6 separate regions of the Homo sapiens genome follow, and all the other regions are linked to region 1. The links are contacts of gene promoters, found by promoter capture Hi-C in human tissues and cell types (Jung and others, 2019). All regions are on one chromosome and are shown on one strand. The core of a region is centred on a gene start or on the middle of the fragment in contact, and the rest is flanking DNA. Distances in the headings are between cores, read along the strand shown.

Evidence for each region. Contacts are between HindIII fragments. The study calls those that stand out against the background at their distance.
Region 2: a fragment that was not itself captured here is called in contact with the fragment with the promoter of ZNF563 in region 1 in 4 of the 25 tissues and cell types used here (bladder, dorsolateral prefrontal cortex, mesenchymal stem cells and 1 more).
Region 3: a fragment that was not itself captured here is called in contact with the fragment with the promoter of ZNF563 in region 1 in 2 of the 25 tissues and cell types used here (aorta and dorsolateral prefrontal cortex).
Region 4: a fragment that was not itself captured here is called in contact with the fragment with the promoter of ZNF563 in region 1 in 1 of the 25 tissues and cell types used here (mesenchymal stem cells).
Region 5: a fragment that was not itself captured here is called in contact with the fragment with the promoter of ZNF563 in region 1 in 1 of the 25 tissues and cell types used here (spleen).
Region 6: the fragment with the promoter of ZNF878 here is called in contact with the fragment with the promoter of ZNF563 in region 1 in 1 of the 25 tissues and cell types used here (small bowel).

Annotation. Positions count from the first base shown.
Region 1 is chr19:12,331,145-12,334,945 of GRCh38, forward strand. It overlaps ZNF563 (zinc finger protein 563), which reads right to left and starts at 2,489. Exons shown (of 4, transcript NM_145276.3): 1 at 2,336-2,489. The coding sequence starts at 2,338. RefSeq lists enhancers at 586-665, 1,843-1,952, 2,183-2,442, 2,545-3,410 and a silencer at 2,583-2,722. The HindIII fragment of the contact is 22,494 bases long and covers 1-3,801 here.
Region 2 is chr19:11,881,596-11,885,053 of GRCh38, forward strand. No RefSeq gene overlaps it. Among named protein-coding and RNA genes, the nearest start is that of ZNF69, 4.5 kb to the right of the region's middle. The HindIII fragment of the contact is 6,745 bases long and covers 1-3,458 here.
Region 3 is chr19:11,843,063-11,847,088 of GRCh38, forward strand. No RefSeq gene overlaps it. Among named protein-coding and RNA genes, the nearest start is that of ZNF439, 3.6 kb to the right of the region's middle. The HindIII fragment of the contact is 5,747 bases long and covers 1-4,026 here.
Region 4 is chr19:11,950,513-11,954,325 of GRCh38, forward strand. It overlaps ZNF700 (zinc finger protein 700), which reads left to right. Exons shown (of 4, transcript NM_144566.3): 4 at 1-251. It also overlaps a transcript of ZNF69 not described here and the pseudogene VN2R21P. Among named protein-coding and RNA genes, the nearest start is that of ZNF763, 13 kb to the right of the region's middle. The HindIII fragment of the contact is 4,503 bases long and covers 1-3,565 here.
Region 5 is chr19:12,684,397-12,688,016 of GRCh38, forward strand. GNG14 (G protein subunit gamma 14) reads left to right here and starts at 3,602. Exons shown (of 1, transcript NM_001316692.2): 1 at 3,602-3,620. The HindIII fragment of the contact is 4,816 bases long and covers 1-3,620 here.
Region 6 is chr19:12,051,021-12,054,678 of GRCh38, forward strand. ZNF878 (zinc finger protein 878) reads right to left here and starts at 1,941. Exons shown (of 4, transcript NM_001080404.3): 1 at 1,779-1,941. The coding sequence starts at 1,781. RefSeq lists a silencer at 1,537-1,586 and an enhancer at 1,775-2,280. The HindIII fragment of the contact is 7,236 bases long and covers 1-3,658 here.

The DNA.
Region 1 (3,801 bases), core at 1,239-3,738:
TCTTCTCTATCAATCTCTAATGATAGAATGCATTTTACAGCTAAGAAAAAACTGAACAGAAATGAGTGAACAAATCTTTTCAAGGTTGACAACCTCAGGGAGGGGCAGTGCTGACTGGAACACAGACAAGTCTCATTCAAGGGTCAGGTCAGGTCCTCCTGTCACCTGGGACATCCCCCACCCCCGTGCTGCTCACTGAAGTGCTCAGTGACTACTCCCTACCCCCAACCACCAGATACCGCACTGTGTACTTTCAGGCTCTTACACCACCTCACTGGGGTAAGTTATCTTTGACCTTTCGGATAGTTTTTCTTGCTTCACTAGTCTAACAGAATTCAAAGGATGGGAATCATTTCTATTTTACCCCCTCAATACCAGCACCTGAGTGGCTGACCAGCCATGTCTCCAAGAAATGAAAACTGGGCTTGGGGTGAGAAAACTGAGTATCCCAGGGCTTAACTTTTTACAAGAGGATACCAGGGGAATCCTCCCACCACAGGGTATCCAGCTCTTCCCCTGGGAGGCCCCAGCCCTGCATCTCAGGCTGTCCTCTGGGAGGAGTGGCCCAGGGGCTGATATTCACTACCCTCCAAGACAAGGCTGCTGTATCCACTTGGTGCCAGTCCCAGGCAGTTATCAAAGCCAGTACCAGGAAAAGATAGTGTGGGCTCAGGACTCATCAGCTGGTGGTTTCCAAAGGGGAACCTCAACCCAAACACTTCCAGATAAGGTGCCTGTGCCCAGAGAAGATAAAAGGAGAAGAGGCGCAGACATTTTTCTTGTTGGTTTTTACAGCAGAGTGGTTAAACCACCTGACAGGTGGTTATTCTCTGCATCCTCACATATGAAATATTCACAAACAAAAATCATATCTTCTAAAAAAGAATCATATATTGCTACCTGGGGAAAAAAATGACAGTTAAAATACTGTATTTGTTTGAAATACAGCCTGGGGGACAAAGAGTTCATTATGTTGCTGTGAACTGAGGACAGTGTAGAGTCTTAATTAGGGAAAAGGCTAAGGGGAACAGGGGAAAAGGCTGTTAAATTAAAGTCTTAATTAGGGAAAGGCTAAAGGGAACAGGGGAAAGCAGAAAGATAAAACAAAAAAGCTATAAATCTGCCTATCTTCATGTGCAGAGAATTTAAACAAAAGAGAATGCAGGTAAGTTACGGGTCTAACTTTGTTTTTTTTCTTTTTTCTTTTTTTTTTTTTTTTTGAGACGGAGTCTCTCTCTGTCGCCGGCCCAGACTGGAGTGCAGTGACGTGATCTCAGTTCACTGCAACCTCCGCCTCATGGGTTCAAGCGATTCTCCTGCCTCAGCCTCTCGAGTAGCTGAGATTACAGGCATGTGACACCACGTCTGGCTAATTTTTGTATTTTTAGTAGAGAAGGGGTTTCGCCATCTTGGCCAGGCTGGTCTGGAACTCCTGTACATGTCTAACTTTCTTTATGGCCCAAGACATGGCCTTCTTGCCCAGATAACGCACTTAATTCACAGACTTCCTGCTCACCATCAAACGCCTCAATTTATCAAACACCGGGGCTGACAGAGGAATGCAAGTTAAGCTCCCTGCTGCCTTGGCACTCTGCTGCCTTGGCACTATCAATCAGCCCAAGTTCCATTCTATAAAATCACCCACAAGCCTCTGCTTCTCTCCTGCAGGCTTCCCATGGCCTCCCTTGCGATGGATTTTGCTTCTTTCGCTAATAACTTTACCTACAACTGTCTTAGTAAAAATTATTTTACCCCGGCGTTACCGGCCCAGATAGCAGTCGTTCCCCTGTGACGGAGAGGAAGTCAGCTTTATGAAATGCAGGGCAAAATCTGGAAATCTAGGGATTTACTGCCAGCCCCAGGAGTTAGGGTGAGGGGACAAGATAAGCATTAGACATCTGCCTTCCCAAACCTTTGAAGACTCAGAGGGACACCGGTCCCCTTTAGGAAGAAAACAGAGACTGAGGATCCCACAGATCACAGCTCCTCACAGGCACGAACCCCACACACGAGTGGGGATTCCCTCCATGACCCTTCCGTGACCCTCCCCCAATCCTGGGGAGATGGGGGGCTGCGGGCGAGGAGCTGCCCAGACAGGGCTCCGAGGCCGGGACCGCAGTTGCCGCGCAGGGACCGGATAGGACGCCCGGGGTCCCGGCTGCCAGCTCAGCCTCACTCTGTGGCTGAGGGGACCGAGGGTCGAGCTGCGCCAGGGGGACTCGGGTCCCAGACCCCGGAGCTGACGGCGGGGGAGGCCCACGTTCGCCGCGGCCGGTTCTGGACGGTTCCAACCAGCTCTTTCCCACTTTTGGGACGCCTGACCCTGCACACGCACCATTTCCCGGCTTCCGGGATGTTCCAGGGTCCTCCCTCTGCCTCCCGCTGCCAGTGCGGGTCCCACTGTGACAGAGGCTGCCACAGACGTTCCAGGGCGTCTCTCAGCGACTGAGGCTACACAGACGTTCCAGGGCGTCTCTCAGCGAGCGACTGAGTCTAGAGCTGAGCGCAGGGGCGTGAAGACGCCGCGGGCTCTTTGAACCTGGCACCCTACTGCCAGCCGTGCGCCTGATTGACAGTTCTCACGACCCCGCCCCATAGCTCTGATTGGATAGGGCTCCAGGTCCCGCCCCCTGGGCACTGAGTGACAGAAGAAGCGATCACACAGTGCTGAGTCGAGCGGGATGAACGAGTTCCAGGCACAGCCCTTGACAGGGCAGGCTTCCTCCCTGTGCTGTCCTGATCCCTCCCAGGGAACATTTGCATTTATGCAGAATTACCTGCCCGTACTCAGCAGGCCCTTACTGCCTTTTCCTCCTGGAGAAGGAGTCACAAGTGTTTTGCAGGGAATCCCAGACTCACAGTCCAGTGGAGCCATTCCCCTGGCCTCAGAGCAGAGGGGAGCCCAAGGCCACACAGGCCACACTGCAGCAGGAGGGTGGCCTGATGTCCACCGGGCATCAGGATTTGAGGATGAGACTCTTGGCGGCAAGGTTAAGCCTTCCTCTCTCACCTTGCCTCTCAATCTGCTCATTTTCAGCCAAGGAAATAAAAACAAGTCAAGAACGGTATTAAAATATCAAATGTGTGGAAGAACTGAAATCACACGGCAGCAATAAATGAATGAATGAATCAAAACAAAAATACAACAGGAAAAAAAAAGCAAAAACTTGAACTAGTGCAGATAAGCAGCCTGCTGCCCTCATACTTCAGCAAACGTCCCATTCAGGAGGCTAAACATATGCCCAAACTTGGCAGCCACTCTTAACTGTTGAAATGGAACCCCAGAGTGAACCAAAACCTGGTGATGAGACTGGGACACTGAAGGATTTGACTCTGGGAGCTCAACATACTTCCCTGTGCCCTCTGCAGAGTGTGGAAATGCCCCCACCGTCAAGATGTGCATTTTCACCAACAGGAAAGTTTCATGTAAAGTTAGTTTAAGGGCCCGGGGCGGTGGCTCACGCCTGCAATCCCAGCACTTTGGGAGGCCGAGGCGGGTGAATCACCTGAGGTCACCAGTTGGAGACCAGCCTGGCCAACATGGTGAAACCACATCTCTACTAAAAATACAAAAATTAGCTGGGCATGGTGGCGGGCACCTGTAATCCCAGCTACTCGGGAGGCTGAGGCAGGAGAATCACTTGAACCTGGGAGGCGGAGGTTGCAGTGAGCCGAGATCGTGCCACGGCATTCCAGCCTGGGTGACAGAGTGAGACCTGGTCTCAAAAAAAAAAAAAAAAAAAAAAAAAAGGTTACTTTAAGGTACTGACCTACATAAACTGTCAAATTCATAAACCCTTT
Region 2 (3,458 bases), core at 362-2,861, 450 kb before region 1:
CCCCCTAGGCAAGAGATTCCTATCACGAGGGATTGAGCCTAGCCAGGACCCAGTATAGGAAATATTACAAGCAAAAAAGACAAAGTTAGCAACAAAGATATCCCCCCTAATAGTCCCCTAGGTCTCATGTTAAAACATTAGAAAGATAATGAAAAGACTAAACATAAGAAAAAGCAATTAGTGATAAAATATTGCTGTTCCATTTAGACTCAAGAACGAATCCTTGAACCCTTAGTTTTCTGGCCAGAATTTAAGTCGAATGAGGGATGGATTTGTGAACTTCTAATAGAAAATGTTGCTAGTAGAAGACCTGCCTCCTGAGAAGAAACAAATTATGCCCTATGTTAGTTGCAAGGAGTTGTCCTTTCCCCTCCTCCAAGGATTGAAAGGAGCAAGTCAAAAACTAATATTTGGAGGAAAATGAGTTGTACATGTGCCCTATTAAGATAGAACCATCTTTAATGAAAAAGACAGTGAAGGAAGGGGCTTGGGGGATCCTAGCAAAAAGAACAACTCGCAAGATCCCCTAGACCATTCCCCACCTAATACCCAACCCTTCCCCTCAGGCATCGCCCAGTAAGTCTGTTCTTCCCCAGCCTAAGTCCCTCTCCCCTAAAGAACTCCAAGCTCCTAATTCACCAGATGGCTTTTGCCAGGCTAGCAACATGAAGGATCTGCCGCAACATGTTGTCAGCGTTGTCTGGCCCATAGTGCACCCCTGCAGCGGCAAAGCCCATGCTCCTGCCCACTGGCTGGTCCAAGGTCCTGGCACTGTATTGACGGCAGCTCTGCATGACATGCGAGCCAGGCCCCAGCCTATGCCCCATGCAAACTACATTATAGGATATCTGCCTTACTTTGCTGAGGCTAAGTAATACGGGGCTTCAGCGATGGCTCCAAGCAGCCTGGCATCCCCGCAGCTAAGTTTCCTGAGCAAGAAGTAGATAATCTTTCAGCGGATATATCCACTAGCATTTATTATAGTCAGGCCAGTGTTAAAAGTGAAAATATCCACCAGAAAAGAACTCTGATTCTTTAAAGTCACCTATGTTAAAATGTACCACCAAAAAAGAATTACATGTGTATAAATATGAGGCTATTCTGTTAAAAATGATAGTTTAATGTTACTAGTAATTTGCTTAACCTAACAAGTTTCTTAACGAAAGATCCAAATCTAAAAAGGAAGCACACATGTTTAGATTTAACTGATTACCATACAAATGTCCGGCCAAACTTAAGAGAAACCCCCTTCAAAAATGATTAAAGGAAAAAGGATTCAACAGATGTTCAATAATAAATAGAGAAGTTCCTAGAGAAATAAAATTTAAAAATTGTTTAATAGTTTACCCAAATTTGTAAGCTGTTTGCACTTAGTCAAGCTTTAAAGTAACTGCAAAGGAACCATCTATACTAATCTATATTGATTCTAAATACACCTTTATCGTGGCTCATACATTTAGAAAATTTCAGACAATAATAAAGGTCAAAGCCTTGTTCATGAAGAGTTAATAACCCAAGTGTTAAATAACCTTCAGTTACCAGAAAAAAAAAAAAAGCTATTTTCCACGTCCCCAGGCACCAAAAATCCTATCTTTCAAGAGTTAAGAAAATAACCTAGCAAATCAGATAATCCGAACCAGCTGCCGTTTCTCCTGTAGGCACTGAAGGGAATTCAAATGTTATTTAAACCTCTTATGAAAGAAGTCCTATCCCACCTAAATTAGAGGACCCATTAAAGACCTCAAGCTATGTATAGCACAGTTAAAGTTTATATGTGTATGAAAATGTACATCCTTAGCCAAACAAGTCTAGAAACTTAGTTGCCATAACTCAAATGTCTTCTGTCTTCCTATTAATCCAAACTACCTCTCAAAGCAATCCACTGCCAACATTCCTACATACTTGGTTTATCTTCCACTTTCTCTTCCCTCAAAACTCACAATTTTCCAGTACAGGTGCGGCTCCTGGAGTTCCCAGTGCGTCAACACCGGCCTGAGGAGCTGGCCTAGTACTTCCCACCATTGAAACTGCAGTCTGGACAGCAGAGAAAGGATAGACCCATCACACCCGAGTCAAGAAAGCACCGCCACCCCCAAAGTCGTAGGCCATTATTCCAGGGGAAAACCCCCTCAAACTAAAGCTAAGAAAAATTTAACCTCTTACATCTATTCTATTACTCTTTCTTCTTTTCCCCTTCCAATGCTGACCACCTTGTCATTAATGTAACTCAATCAAACTCACCCCAAGTTATCACGTTTAATGCTATGTCTAGTCATACCCTGTAAAGATCTCCAAAGTCAAAGACAAGTCTCAGCCTCAGAAAAGTATCTCTGCCCCTTTAAGGTGAAAGGCCCCCCCTACCAAGACTCTTGTTCCTTAACAAATATAAGAAAACAAGTCTGTCATAGCTAGAATGATGTCCTATGGACAACCAAATGTCAAGGCTAGACCTCATCAGCAGGTGGCTGTATATCCTTAAAACCATACATTCATTTCACTAAAAAAAGCACCTCCCCAATTGCCAGTATAATCAATGTAATCCCATACAAATTTCCACCTCTACTGACCCTAAACCTACTTTAAGTCACTTCTATGGAACAGGAGCCAACTTGGCCAGCACAGACCTCATAAGATCTTTCGAAATGCGTTTTATTAATCCTTCATTCTCTTCACCCCCTTCCTTCTCTTCTCCTTCTAAGCTTTCTTCTAATCAGACTGCCACCTGTTTTCTACCTAATGATACTACTAAAGTAAATATTGTAGAAGTAAAAGATTTAAGACAAACCCTAGCAATTAAAACAGGATATCAAGATGTAAATACCTGGTTGGAATGGATTCAATATTCCGTCCGCACATTGAACAAAAGCAATTGTTACGCTTGTATGCATGGCAGACTAGAGGCCCAGACTGTTTCCTTTCCACTAGGATAGCCCTTCAGCCGACCAGGCATAGGCTGTATGGTAGCTCTTTTCCAAAATTCCACAGCCTGGGGCAACAAATCATGCCAAGCTCTCTCTCTGCTATATCCCGAAGTCCAACAACCTGCAGGCCAGCCCCCAAAGGCCATTCAGCTTCCTTCTCCTGACGTCAATTTCACCTCATGTCTCTCACGACGAGGGGAGAATCTGGCGTTCCTTAGAAGCTTAACAAGATGCAATAAGCTTAAGCCCTTCCAAAAACTTACCCATCAGTCTGCCCTTAGTCATCCTCAAGCAGATGTATGGTGGTATTGTAGTGGACCTTTACTGGATACTCTGCCAAGTAACTGGAGCGGCACTTGCGCTCTTGTCCAATTGGCGATCCCTTTCACACTGGCATTTCATCAACCAAAAAAAAAGAAAAGCCACAACACCAAAAAATAAGAGAAGCCCCTTATAAGTCTTTTGACTCTCAAGTTTACATAAAGGCCATTAGAGTCCCATGGGGAGTGCCTAACAAGTTCAAAACCTGAGACCAAA
Region 3 (4,026 bases), core at 1,210-3,709, 490 kb before region 1:
TAGCAGATTCCAGTCATCCTCTTACATTTGACTAATTTGTAGGGTTTTTTTTTCCTTTTTTCTTTTTTTTTAATTTGAGACAGTCTTGCTCTGTAGCCCAGATGGAGTGCAGTGGTCACTCACTGCTCACTGTAGCATCAGGCTCGTGGGCTTGAGCAATCCTCCCACCTCAGCTTTCTGCCCAGTTAATTTTAAAAAATTTTTTTGTGGAGACAGGGATCTCACTGTTTTGCCCAGGCTGCTCTCGAACTCCTGGGCTCAATCAATTCTCCTGCCTCGGCCTCCCAAAGTGCTGGGATTGCAAATAGGAGCCACCACACTCAGCAATGAGGGTTTTTTTTTTTGTTTTAAACAAGATATCCGTACATGTTTCTGACCAATATTTTATTTAAAATCTTTAAGAACTACATATTAACAAAGGTTATTCTGTTTTTCATTTTCTGTTTTCCATTTTCATTATGACTACTTGTTTTTCTTTCTTATTCTCATTTTTTTCCTAGATCATTACAATAATTTTCCATGTAGTGGCCCTGGCATGCATTTTGATCCTTCATGCAATCATACAGCTACCTCGATGTCCATTCTCTCTGCCATTCTGAAATTGGACCTCACTCCTTTTTGACTCTAGCTCTCCATCTGCTATGTGATAAAGTCCTGTCTTGTGATGGTTACTATGGGACTGAATGAAGAAGGGCAGATGCAGAAATAAAGACAAAAGATCTATGTTAAAGAAGGGATCAGGGGGCTCCTTGCTTCTAGTGAGCAAGGGCCCTGAGCTTCTATAGCCCTTTGTTTTTATTGGGTAGAAAGAGCAGGGAGGAGGAGGTAATGGTTGGTCAGCTGCTTGATTTATCACAGGTTCACATGATTACTTTCTTTGTACAACAGGCTTCAGATGTGCCTGTAGATAATCACAAGAAACACTGCGCTTGGGGAGTAACTGCCCTCAGCATTCTTTCTGGGTGGCAGACGTAGTTTGTCAGTTTGCCAACAAGCTGCATTCATGAGAAGAGTTTGCTGTTTGCTCATTAGCCTCCAGTGGTATACTGAGTTGATCAGGACCCCCATTCTTTCAGCCTCCAACACTGTCTGATTACATTGTTTCCAAAGCCTCTTTTATGGACTTCTGTTTACCCCTTGGCGTGTCCTGCATTTACTCTCCTCAAAATGTGTACTTAGAGGCCGGGTGCGGTGGTTCATGCCTGTAATCCCAGTACTTTGGGAGGCCAAGGCAGGAGGATCCCTTGAGCCCAGGAGTTTAAAACCAGCCTGGGCCACACTGGGAGACCCTGTCTCTAAAATAAAATGTATACTTACAAGCCCTAAACCCCAACAGGGTCATATTTGGACACAGACCTTTTAGGAGATCACATACATTTATAAAGGAGAGCCCTCATAATGGGATTAGTAAGAAGAGAGAGAATTCTCTGTTTCTCCAGCATGGGAGGACAAAGCAAGAAGGCATCTAGCTGTAAGCCAGGAAGATAGCCTTCACTGGGAACAAAATTGCTGGCAGCAAGATTTTGGACTTCCCGCACTCCAGAATTGTGAGAAACAAATGTTTGCCGTTTAAGAAACTGAGTCCATGGTATGAGTCCATGGTATTTTGTTATACCAGCCTGAGCTAAGTCACCCCAAGAGTCCTCACATTAACCATATACTGTCGTACAAGTGCTGCATTTGGATCTACCTGGAATGTCTCCAAGTCTTCTACTTTTCCTCTTGGACCCATTGTGAGAATAGGTTTTGCTTCATAGGCAACTGCTGGTGATAGTAGTGATAGCCCATAACAACTAGGGAGTTAAAGAAACTTCCTTTCTCTCTCTCTCTCTCTCTGTTTTTGAAATGGAGTTTTTGCTCTTGTTGCCCAGGCTGGAGTGCAATGGCACGATATCGGGTCACTGCAACTTCTGCCTCCTGGGTTCAAGTGATTCTCCTGCGTCAGCCTCCCGAGTAGCTTGGATTACAGGTGTGCACCACCACGCCTGGATAATTTTCGTTTTGTTAGTTACAGACGGGGTTTCACCATGTTGGCCAGCTTGGTCTCGAACTCTTGACCTCAGGTGATCCACCTGCCTTGGCCTCCCAAAGCGCTAAGATTACAGGTGTGAACCACTGTGCTCGGCCTCTTTTATATGTGTGTGTATATATATATATTCTCTTTTTTAATAAAAGTAAATAGAAACTAGGTCTTACTATGTTGCCCAGGGTGGTCATAGCCCAAGATTTTGGGCTCAAGCGATCTACCCGCCTCGCTCACCCAAAGTGCTGAGATTAAGGCGTGAGAAACTGTGCCAGGCCAAATGAAAGAAACTTAGTGGGAGGCCTGGCACAGTGGCTCACACCTGTAATCCCAGCACTTTGGGAGGCTGAGGCGGGTGGATCACTTGAGCTCAGGAGTTCAAGACCAGCCTGGACAGCATGTTGAAACCCTGTCTTTACTAAAAATACAAAAAATTAGCCGAGCATGGTAATCCCATTCTCACAGTCATAGAAAGGTTCTTTTTTAAGGATTCTACCTACTTGAGAGCATCATATACTGCCAGCACTTGTTCACTTCAAGAGTGTCTGGTTTCATCTCTATGACATAATTACAACCAAAATCCTAAAGGAACTGATTTACCACACTGTGTTTGCCATAAGGCCCAATTTGTACCTGCAGCAGCAGCTGTATCATCCCAACTCACAGCTCTACCCTCTAAAGGTGTGCCTGAGGCTTGTGATCCAGTCCATAGGGAAATATCACTACCTGCTGTGTTTTATAATTGGACCATCCAAGGGTTGTCAGGGTTTTCCCAGAGAGTTTTGTGGGATTTTTTTTTTTTTTTGAGACCAGGTCTTGCTGAAGTTAGTATGGCAGCATACTAACACATTAACCTGTCGAAAGCTTCCTGCAGAGCTGTGTCCCAGTCTCAAAGTGCCCCTTTCTAATAATTCTATATATTGGTATCAAACTTTGGGCTAAGTGTCAGATAAATGCTCTCCAATAATCCAAAGACCAACAAATGTCTGGATTTCTTTTTTCTTTTTTGTTTTTTAAGAGACATAGTGTGGTTCTGTTTCCCAGGCTGGAGTGCAGTGGTGGGATCATATAGCTCACTGCAGAAACTCCTGGGATCAAGGGATCCTCCTGCCTCAGCCTCCCAAGTAGCAGGGAATAAAGGCACATGCCACCATGCCCAATTGTTTATAAATTTTTTTGTACAGATGGAGTCTCACTGTATTTTCCAGGCTGTTCTTGAACGCCCAGGCTCAAGTGATTCCCCAACCTCAGCCTCCCAAAGTGCTGAGATTACAGTCATGAACCAATGCACCCAGCCCTGAAAAGGAAATATTTCGAATGGAAATTCAAAGGGAGAACATCTAATGTTCAAGTTGATGTCTATAGAGCAGTTAACGGGAACTATCATTTAGGGTCTGTGGGATTCTAGGACACTAGGTATGAAACAAATATGAGGAAGGTCAGAGAACAAGCTGACTTAATGATTAATGCTGAAGGTGCTGCCAGCTTGGTTTAAGTTTTCCTCCTCCCTTCCTCCCTGATGAATTTGATAAAGTTTAAAGGGATGGTTTCACCAGGGGCCTTTTACATTGACAGCAAGGAGGTCATCCGCCTGGTAAATCCTCAGTAGTCCAAGCCTCTTACATGGCTAGAATGATCCAGTCCATAAGGAAACGTCACCACCCTCTGTGTTTTACAATTAGACCATCCAAGGGGGTCAGGGTTTCCCCAGGGAATTTGGTGGGATTTTTTTTTTTTTGAGACCGTGTCTTGCTGAAGTACAGTAGCCTGATCAAAGCTCACAGCAGCCTCAAACTTTGGGGCTCGAGTAATCCTCCTGCCTCAGGCTCCTGAGTAGCTGAGACTAAGGGTACACACCACCTCTCCAGGCTAATAAAAAAAAAATTATGGAGATGGGAGTGTCTCACTTCACTGCTCAGGGTGGTCTTCAACTTCGGGCTTCAAGTGATCCTCCCACTTTGGCCTCCTAAAATGTTGGGATTGCAGGTGTAAGCCATGGCACC
Region 4 (3,813 bases), core at 64-2,563, 380 kb before region 1:
CACTGGAGTGAAACCCTATGAATGTAAGCAATGTGGGAAAGCCTTCAGATGTGCCTCGCACCTTCAACGGCATGGAAGGGTTCACACTTGGGAGAAACTCTATGAATGTAAGCAGTATGGGAAAGCCTTCAGATCTGCCAAGATTCTTTGAATACAGATAATTAATGTAAACAATTATCATAAGTATACTAACATGTTATTCTTTTTAAATAAGAAGGTATAATAAAATATCCCATTGGTTTTATGTATTAGATCAAGCTTATAATGTTACATTGTTATTATTTGGACATTGTGAGTCAGTATTACCATGTGGATAAAATGCCAGGCATCTTTTTCCTCATGGAAAGTTTACTTTTTGCACCGGGCACAGTGGCTCACGCCTGTAATCCCAGCACTTTGGGAGGCCAAGGCAGGCGGATCACGAGGTGAAGAGATCAAGACCATTCTGACCAACGTGGTGAAACCCTGTCTCTACTAAAAATACAAAAATTAGCTGGGCATGGTGGCGCGCACCGGTAGTCCCAGCTTCTCGGGAGGCTGAGGCAGGAGAATCGCTTGAACCTGGGAGGCGGAGGTTGCAGTGAGCAGAGATCACACCACTGCACTCCAGCCTGGCAACAGAGCAAGACTCCATCTCCAAAAAAAAAAAAAAAAAAGAAAGAAATTTTACTTTTCATGCTTATGTACTTATTTTTTATCTCAACCCTAATTTTGCTGGTTTTTGTTTTTTTTTTTTCTGATAGTCTCATTCTGTCGCCCAGGATAGAGTGCAGTGGCGCAGTCTCAGCTCACTGCCACCTCCGCCTCCTAGGTTCAAGTGATTCTCCTGCTTCAGCCTCCTGAGTAGCTGGGACTACAGGCGTGCCCCACCTCACCCAGCTAGTATTCGTATTTTTTTAGTAGAGATGGGATTTCACCATATTAGCCAGACTGGTCTCAAACTCCGGACCTCGTGATCTGCCCACCTCGGCTTCCTAAAGTACTGGGATTACAGACATGAGCCACTGGGCCCGGCCTCAACCCTAATTTTTCATTCACTCATTATGCCAAAAGTTATCTCATATACCTCTGAGTGCCTTCTTCCCCAAAACCACCAGTGCCATACCTGCTGTCAGCAAGGGTGTAATATACTGTAGTGGTAAATATGACCACAAGTCATAAATGACTGTGGGATGTATGAGAATTACAAGTCACATTAGTAAGAAGAGAAAAATTTTGGTCATGTTTATGATTTGAAATATGTTTTCTTTTATCACATTTAGAAATATAGTTATAAAATATTCTCTTTTTTTGTCCTGATCCATCATGGTCACTGAGGAGCATCGTCTCATATGCCCGGTATGTGACTTGTGTCTCTCCAATGGTAAAAGCCTTGGCCTTGGCCAGACACTGTGGCTCACGCCTGTAATCACAGCACATTGGGAGGCTGAGGCAGGCGGATCACCTGAGGTCAATACTTTGAGACCAGCCTGACCAATATGATGAAACCCCATCTCTACTAAAATTACAAAAATTAGCCAGGTGTGGTTGCATGCTCCTGTAATCCTAGCTAGTCAGGAGGCTGAGACAGGAGAATCGCTTGAATCTCGGGGGAGGGCAGAGGTTGCAGTGAGCCAAGATGGCGCCATTGCACTCCTGCATGGGCAACAAGAGTGAAACTCCATCTCAAAAAAAAAGACTTGGCCTTGTGATGAGGGGAGGTCAGCTCTAGACTCTTGGACCGGGTTTTGCCTTACTTATTCTCTAAAGACTAAAATATTTCCTAAAATGTATGGGCACTGTTTACTAGAAAGTACCTTAGTTAAAACATACAAATTCATTTATGCCTTATAAAGCTATATTTTTTCAAATTGTTTTACTAAGTCATAGGAAGCTAATACAGTTGTGTAAATTGTCTGAATACAAGCCTTTCTTTCTCTGATAATGTGCTGTTGATGCTAACTTGTCAACAGCCTGCTTATCTCAGCAGTGTAAAGTTAACAGCAACGTGGAAAAGTAACTTTTATATATTATGCAATGGCATAGAACAATTCAGTCACTTCCCTTAAGGTACCAATGAAGCTGCTCTTCAGAAACCCTTATTTAAAAAACACTGTCAAAATCCAGGCACCAAAGGATGCAGCATCAATCATTGACCAAACCCTATCTGTGTGTGGAGATGACATACCCAGTCTCAGATAATGCATCCTCATCAGTGAAGGGTGGAGTCATTGATTGTCAGATCACACAAAGTGACTCACAGCAGGGAAGACAGGGCAGTGGCAGAGATGGGGGCACCTGACCAGGTGCAGTGGCTCACACCTGTAATCCCAGCACTTTGGGAGGCTGAGGCAGGTGGATCACTTGAGGTCAGGAGTTGAAGACCAGCCTGGCCAACATGGTGAAACCCCATCTCTACTAAAAATACAAAAATTAGCTGGGCATCGTGGTGTGTGCCTGTAATCGCAGCTACTCAGGAGGCTGAGACAGGAGAATCACTTGAGCCTGGGAGGCAGATGTTACACTGAACTGAGATCACGCCACTGCACTCTCTAGCCTGATCAACAGAGCGAGACTCCATCACACACACACAAAAAAAATTAAAAAAGAGTTGGGTGCACCTGGATCTAACCCCTGTCTCATCCTTCTGCCTTGAAGGCCAAATGCACCCTGATACTTTTCACCAAAGAGTAGAAACACCACCATCCACTTGACCCCAAATGTGACTTTCCACAGGATGCAAGCACAGTGTTGGAATAGCCAAAGACAGTAACAATAGAAGTGCAGGGTGAGGGTGATGAACAGGACACACTGGAGAGCCTGACATTGGCCTAGACTACGGGGGTGTCTTGATCCTTCACAAAGAGCCCAAGGAGCAACCCAAAGAGACACTGGAGCACAGGCCCAAAGGGTGTTCATATGCCAGGAAGGCCACTAATTTTAGAAGGCAGTGATGTTGGTTCCTGTTGGAGTCCTGATCCTTTATAACATATGCTTTTCTGCATCTGGTTAGACAAGGAAATCTGCAATTTTTGACTTGCAGCATTTAGAAATAAGTTATTTTAGCAATCCACACACTCGTGGTTTATTCTGAACTAACTTGAGACAAACAGCTACAGATAGGGAATATCATGAGTATTTCCAAGACTAAAACTCTTCACAAAGTCAGTGGGACCCTCTCATGGGAGGGTTTTAAGACCCACAATAAAAAAGGTGGGGAAACATTGAGTGGAAAGAGGGCAGCAGGTCAGGGGCCTTCCCCAGAGGCCTAACACACCCAACATTACCCTGGATGAAAACAAATACATACCATAACATCACACTTTCTTCAATGTGTAACAGAGAAAATGAAATGTATTCAAAGGTAAGCTTTCAGAATTCCACTTTACACAATTAATAAGGTTTTAATATTACTCTGTGTTGATGTTAAGGAATTATTAAATATGAACAGCATTTTCTGGTTATATATGGAAAATACCTTGATTTATGAGGTATGAAAATGCTCATTTTTACGTATGCATGTTTTACTTTTGTGCTTTTTTTATAAAACAAGGTGAAAAAACAGGAAAAAAATTTCAGATCAAGGAAGTTAAGCAGATTAATAGGAGAAAAGTTATACAAATTTATTTAACATGTATATATGGGAGCCTTCAGAATGAAGACCCACCCAACAATAAGACAAAAACTTATATACCATTCCAGGGTAGGAAAGAATGCAGATGTGGCATGGCCAAAAAATCCCAGGTTTGATGGGTAAGTCAAGTTTAATAGCAAGACAGATTCTGCAAGAGGAAAGGAAGAAGCTTGGCTAGCAAAGCAGACCTTTTTATGCAG
Region 5 (3,620 bases), core at 453-2,952, 350 kb after region 1:
TTTTTTGTTTTTTGTTTTTTTTGGAGACAGAGTTTCGCTCTTGTTGCCCAGGCTGGAGTGCAATGGCGCGATCTCCACTCATCGCAACCTCTGCCTCCCAGTTTCAAGCAATTCTCCTGCCTCAGCCTCCCGAGTAGCTGGGATTACAGGCATGAGCCATCACGCCCGGCTAATTCTTGTATTTTTAGTAGAGATGGGGTTTCACTATGTTGGTCAGGCTAGTCTCGAACTCCTGACCTCAGGTGATCTGCCTGCCTCGGCCTCCCAAAGTGCTGGGATTACAGGTGTGAGCCACCGCGCCCAGCGCAATCAGGATTTAAACAGGATAATTTGAGTCTTTAGGTGGAGGAGTTCGGGATTTTAGTTGGAGGGATGGGTGAAGGACGCCAAGGAGGTGAGATTTGAGCCAAAGCCAGAAGGCTGAGAAAATCCCCGTATGTGAAGATGCAGAGAGGCCATTTCCTGCACATGGGAAGACAGAACAGCAAAAGCCGTGAGGCTGGAATGAGCCTACCTTGTTGGAGGAGACAGACATCCTCCTTGACATCCTCGCTTGGACCTCAAAGTTGCCCCCTCAGCTCCCTCTCCACCTATCCCTGATCTTTCTGCATCTCAGCAAACGGCCCCACCCTCCACTCATCCACTAGACTGAAAAATAGGGATTGGGGCTGGGCGCGGTGGCTCACACCTGTAATCCCAGCACTTTGGGATGCCAAGGAGGGCAGATCACCTGAGGTTAGGAGTTAGAGACCAGCCTGGACAACATGGCGAAACCCCGTCTCTACTAAAAAATACAAAAATTAGCCGGGTGTGGTGGCGCACACCCATAATCCCAGCTACTCAGGAGGCTGAGGCAGGAGAATCACTTGAACCCGGGAGGTGGAGGTTGCAGTGAGCTGAGATGGTGCCACTGCACTCCAGCCTGGGCAACAGAGCGAAACTCCGTCTCAAAAATAGATAAATAAAAATTAAAAATGAGGAGCGCAGCTTGCTGTCTCCCCTTTTCTCACACCCCACATCCATCCTTCTCAGCATGTCTGCCAACCTCTACCTATAAAGTAGGTCCGAAATCCAGGTGTTTTCTTTATCCCCATAGCCTGCAAGCTGGCTTTGGTATCCTCCAACCCATCTCCCACCTAACAGCTAAAATCAGAGAGCTTTTTTTTTTTTTTTTTTTTTTTTGAGACGGAGTCTTGCTCTGTCGCCCAGGCTGGAGTGTAGTGGTGTGATTTCGGCTCACTACAAGCTCCACCTCCCGGGTTCACGCCAGTCTCCTGCCTCAGCCTCCCAAGTAGCTGGGACTACAGGCGCCCGCCACACGCCCAGCTAATTTTTTGTATTTTTAGTAGAGACGGGGTTTCACCATGTTAGCCAGGATGGTCTTGATCTCCTGACCTCGTGATCCGCCCACCTCAGCCTCCCAAAGTGCTGGGATTACAGGCATGAGCCACCGTGCCCAGCCGCTGAGCTTTTTTTTTTGATGCAGGGTCTCACTCTGTCACCAGGGCTGGAGTGCAGTGGGACAATCACACCTCACTGCAGCTTCGACCTCCTGGCCTCAAGTGATCCTCCCACTTCAGCCTCCCCAGTAGCTGGGACTACAGGTGCATGCCACAGCTCTTTAACCATAAATCAAACATGTCACTGTTAAAACCTCCTAATGGTAGCTTCCCCCTGGGAGTAAAATCCAAGCTTTTCACAGTGGCCTTAAAGGGCACCTCTCAACCTCCCTGCTGCCATCTCCCACCATGCTGGCCCTCCCTCCCTCTCTCCTCTCCAGCTACACAGACCTCTTTGCTATTCCTGGAACCCACCAAGCTCTTTTTTGTCCAAGGAGTCAGGTACTTGCCGCTCCTTCTGCCTAGAACACCCCATTTCTCAGTTCCTTCTCCTCCTTTGGGCCTAAGTTCAAATGTCACCTCCTCTGAGAGGCCTGCCCTGACCACTCCTCTCCCCTTTACTTTGATTTTATTCTTCTTTCATATGCCCTTTCACATGTATACTCTTTCACTGAGTACATTTTCTGTTGTCCATCCCTGCCTAACTAGAAAGGCAGCTCCATGAGGGCAAGGTTTTGTCTTGTTTCATTGCTAATTTGGGTTTTTGCACAGTGCTGGGCACATATTAGAATCTCGGGGCAGGGCTCAGTGGCTTATGCCTATAATTCCTTTGGAAGGCCAAGGCAAGAGGATCGTTTGAGGCCAGGAGTTCAAGACCAGCCTGGGCAACATAGTAAGAACCATCTCTACAAAAAGTTAAAAACATAAATTAGCAGGGCACGGTGGCTCACGCCTATAATTCTAGCTAATCAGGAGGCTGAGTTGAGAGGATCACTTGAGCCCAGGAGTTTGAAGTTACAGTGAGCTATGATTGTACCACTGCACTCCAGCCTGGACGACAGAGCGAGAACCTGGGCTTAAAAAAAGAAAAGAAGGCCAGGCACGATGGCTCACACCTGTAATCCCAGCACTTTGGGAGGCCGAAGCAGGTGGATCACTTGAGGTCAGGAGTTCGAGACCAGCCTGGCCAACATGGTGAAACCCCTTCTCTACTAAAAATACAAAAATTAGCCAGGTGTGGCCGGGCGCAGTGGCTCATGCCTGTAATCCCAGCACTTTGGGAGGCTGAGGCAAGTGGATCACCTGAGATCAGGAGTTCAAGACCAGCCTGACCAACATGGTGAAACCTCATCTCTACTAAAAATACAAAAAATTAGCCGAGCATGGTGGCACATGCCTGTAATCCCAGCTACTCGAGAGGCTGAGGCAGAAGAATCGCTTGAACCCAGAAGGCGGAGGTTGCAGTGAGCCGAAATCACGCTATTGCACTCTAGCCTGGGCAACAAGAGCGAAATACCATCTCAAAAAAAAAAAAAAAAAAAAAATTAGCCGGGTGTGGTAGCATACGCCTGTAATCCCAGCTACTCAGGAGGCTGAGGCAGGAGAATCACTTGAGCCCGGGAGGTGGAGGTTGAAAGTGAGCTGAGATCGCACCACTGCACTCCAACATGGGTGATAGAGCAAGACTCTCTCTCAAAAAAAAAAAAAAAAAAAAAAAAAAGAACGAAGGCATTGGAGATTTGAGCCTGAGCAGTGGCGACAACAGGAGGAGAGGCAAGGCTGCATGTTGGAGATGGCAGAGGCTGACAAAGCAGATGTGTTGGGAACAGTTAGCAGGAGATCCAGCAGGCCAGGGGGAGGCCAGGGCCTCCTCACTCCCCCAGCCAAGGCACCTAGCCCACAGGGACCCAGGTGACACATGACACCAGAGGAGCCACAGGGCCTCCTGGGGCAGGGACCCCCTCAGCCGAGGCAGCAGCTGCTGCTGCAGCTGGTGACATTTCACTCCATGAGAGCCCTGGCTTCAAAGTCTTTGCAGGGGTAGCCGAGGGAGAAAAGGGGGTTGAAGAGGACAGGCTGGGTTGGGGAGGGAGCCACAGCAGGGTGGCCACCAGAGGACCAGGCAGCCAGAGGTGACTTGGGCCGGAGCCCTTAGCCGAGGTGTGTGGGCCTGATGGGTCCAGGAGCAGCCACCCTCATCCTGCAGCCCCCAAGGAACATAGAAGGAGGTGTGGGAACCCTCGGGCAGCCCTAGGCTCCCCCTAGGGGACTGAGGTTGGG
Region 6 (3,658 bases), core at 691-3,190, 280 kb before region 1:
GGGAGGCGGAGCTTGCAGTGAGCAGAGATCGCGCCACTGCACTCCAGCCTGGGTGACAGAGTGAGACTCCGTCTCAAAAAAAAAAAAAAAAAAAAAAAGAAAAGAAAAGAAATTAAAACCCCTTGCAAAGAAAATTTTAAAGTCCTGGGCCGGGCGCGGTGGCTCACGCCTGTAATCTGATACAGGAGAATCGCTTGAACCGGGGAGGCGGAGGTTGCAGTGAGCCGAGATTGCGCCATTGCACTCCAGTCTCGGCAACAAGAGCGAAACTCCGTCTCAAACAAACAAACAAAAAAACCTGTAACTAAATTGTATAATTAATTTAGTTGTACTAATTAGTTGTATTAAATTAATTGTACAATTAATTTAGTTGTACTAATTGTTGCGATAATTAAATTTCTTTGTTTTTTGCCTATATAAGAAGGAGCTTAACTTTTTTTTTTTGAGACAGTCTCATTCTTTCACCATGGCTGGAGTGCAGTGGGGCATTCCACTGTAATCCCAGCACTTTGGGAGGCCGAGGAGGGTGGATCACGAGGTCAGGAGTTCGAGACCAGCCTGGCCAATATCATGAAACCCCGTCTCTACTAAAAATACAAAAATTGGCCGGGCGCAGTGGCTCACGCCTGTAATCCCAGTACCTTGGGAGGCCGAAGTGGGCGGATCACAAAGTCAGGAGGAGTTCAAGACCAGCCTGGCCAATATGGTGAAACCCGTTTCTACTAAAAATACAAAAATTAGCCGGGCGTGGTGGCTGGCGCCTGTAGTCCCAGCTACTCGGGAGGCTGAGGCAAGAGAATCGCTTGAACCCGGGAGGCGGAGGTTGCAGTGAGCCGAGATGGCGCCACAGCACTTCAGCCTGGGGCGACGGAGCGAGACTCCGTCTCAAAAATATAAAAATCTGGTAAAATAAAAACAGGTCTTTTGGGGAAGGGGGCGGGGACTGGGATGGAATAACGTGGCAGATAACAGCCCTCCTTCCTACAGCCTCCAAATTTTAGACAAAGCTTTACACACTCTCAACCAACTGCCACCTACAGAATCCCTCCACCACCTGTGCCTTCTAACCCCGCTTCCATGTGTCCCGCCTTTCGGCCAAAGGAACTTACACCTTCCCGGCACTGATTCATCATTTTCCTGCAATTCCTGTCTCCCTGAAATGAATAAAACCAAACTGTCAGGAGCTGCCTCGGGATTGCTTACTCCAGACTTCGCGGGGTTGTGTTTCCCTCAGCCGAGGTCTCTCCTATTCGGCTCAGAATAAACTTATTCTACACGATTTGGGTTTTTCCGTTACCAAACCACAAGCCAGGACTGGGAGTTTCTCATTCATTAATCGCTGTTTGCTAAAATAAACTCTCATTTTTTAACAGTGCCTCAGTTTAATTTTTAACTGGAAAAAAAAAGGAACTGGGGACCCCACAGCCCACAGCTCCTCCCACACGAACCCCACACCCGAGGCAGGATCCCCCATGACCCTTCCATGGTCACCGCACAATCTGGGGAGACGCGGGGCTGCGGGCGCGGAGCTGCTCAGAGAGGGAGCCGGGGCCGGGGCCGCAGTCGCCGCGCAGGGACCGGACAGGACGCCCGGGGTCCCGGCTGCCGGCCCAGCTCCACCCAGCGGCCGAGGGGACCGAGGGCCGAGCTGCGCTAGGGGGACTGTGTCTGGAGCCCAGAGTCGCTGCAGGGGGGCCCGGGCCCCGCCACAGCGGGTTCCTCTCGGTTCCACCCAGTCCCTCCTTTCGCCTTGGGACTCCCCAGCACCGCATGCTCACCATTTCCTGGCTTCCAGGTATTCTGGCGTCCTCTCTAAAGGTCCCGTGAACAGTGCAGGTCACAGCGCAGTCGACAGAGCAACAGCAGCTACGGCGGAAGTAACTGGTCCCTCTCGGAGCAAGAAAGCCCCAGACCTTAACTAGCGCGAGCAGCCCTAGGAGTGAAGAGAGCGGGAATGCAACCTCCCCTTCCCTGGAGGACAGTGGCAGGGCCCCGCCCTAGCGCCCCTGATTGGATAGGGGTCTAGACTCCGCCCCCTTCCCTGAGTGACAGCAGAAGCCCCGGGTAACTGGGCGCTGCAGAGCCGAAGCGACTGGTTCTGGCCACACTTTCCAAGGTCAGCTCCCTCCCTCCCTCCCACCTTTACTTCGAATATTTGCCTTCGGCCAAACTTGCTCCGAACTGCTAGAAGGGACACTGTTGTCTTCCTCACTCCGTGGGCCGTCCCTGCCCCTTCATCCTACACGGGACACAAGTGTGCAGGGAATTCCAGATTCAGTGTCCACAAAATGTGAAAGACATTAAAATATTTTGCCCCAAGATATTGCCCTGCCAAAATATATTTCTTTGACAGTTTTGAAATGGCTGCTGCTTGGCCAGCAAACAAAAGGTGGCCTTGCAAAACTGTCTTTTGAGGGGGAAATTTACATTTGTAGAGAATCTCCGTTAATGAAGCACTGCCAGCTCCCCCGTTCTTTTCCTTTCCCTGATCTAAAAGCTATTGAGAGTTTGACACCTTTAAAATCTGAAGAGAGGTAGCACATGGTGACTCATGTCTATAATCCCACCACATTGGCAAACTGAGGCGGAAGGATCCCTTGAAGCAAGGAGTTTGAGGCCAACATCATCAACACAGCGAGATCCCTGTCTTTCTTTCTTTTTTTTTTTTTTTTTTAGACAGTCTCGATCTGTCGCCCAGGCTGGAGCACAGTGGCACGAGATCTTGGCTCACTGCAACCTCCGCCTCCCAGGTTCAAGCGATTCTCCTGCCCCAGCCTCCCAAATAGCTGGGATTACAGACATGCGCCACCACGCCCCGCTAATTTTGTATTTTTAGTAGAGACGGGGTTTCTCCATGTTGGTCAGGCTGGTCTCGAACTCACGACCTCAGGTGATCCGCCCGCCTCGGCCTCCTAAAGTGCTGGGATTACAGGCGTGAGCCACCTCGCCCGCCGATCCCTGTCTTTATTATTTAAAATTTTTTTAAATGGCCGGGCGCTGGCCGGGCGCAGTGGCTCACGCCTGTAATCCCAGCACTTTGGGAGACCGAGGTGGGCGGATCACGAGGTCAGGAGATCGAGACCATCCTGGCTAATACGGTGAAACCCCGTCTCTACTAAAAATACAAAAAAAAAATTAGCCGGGCGTGGTGGTGGGCGCCTGTAGTCCCAGCTACTCGGGAGGCTGAGGCAGGAGAATGGCGAGAACACGGGAGGTGGAGCTTGTAGTGAGCAGAGATCGCACCACTGTACTCCAGCCTGGGCCACAGAGCAAGACTGTGTCTCAAAAAAACAAAACAAAACAAAACAAAAAACCAGTGGCCGGGCGCAGTGAGACCAGGTCTCTACCAAAAAGATAAGTAAATAGATTAGGGCCAGGCATGGTGGCTCATGCCTGTAATCCCAGCACTTTGGGAGGCCGAGGTGGGTGGATCACTTGAGGTCAGGAGTTTGAGACCAGCCTGGCCAACTTGACGAAATCCCATCTCTACCAAAAATATAAAAATGAGCTGGGTTTGGTGGCACACACCTGTGATCCCAGCTATTCGGGGGGCTGAAGCAGGACAATTGCTTGAACCCAGAAGACGGAGGTTGTAGTGAGCAGAGATTGCACCATTACACTCGAGCCTAGGTGACAGAGTGAGACCTTGTCTCATAAA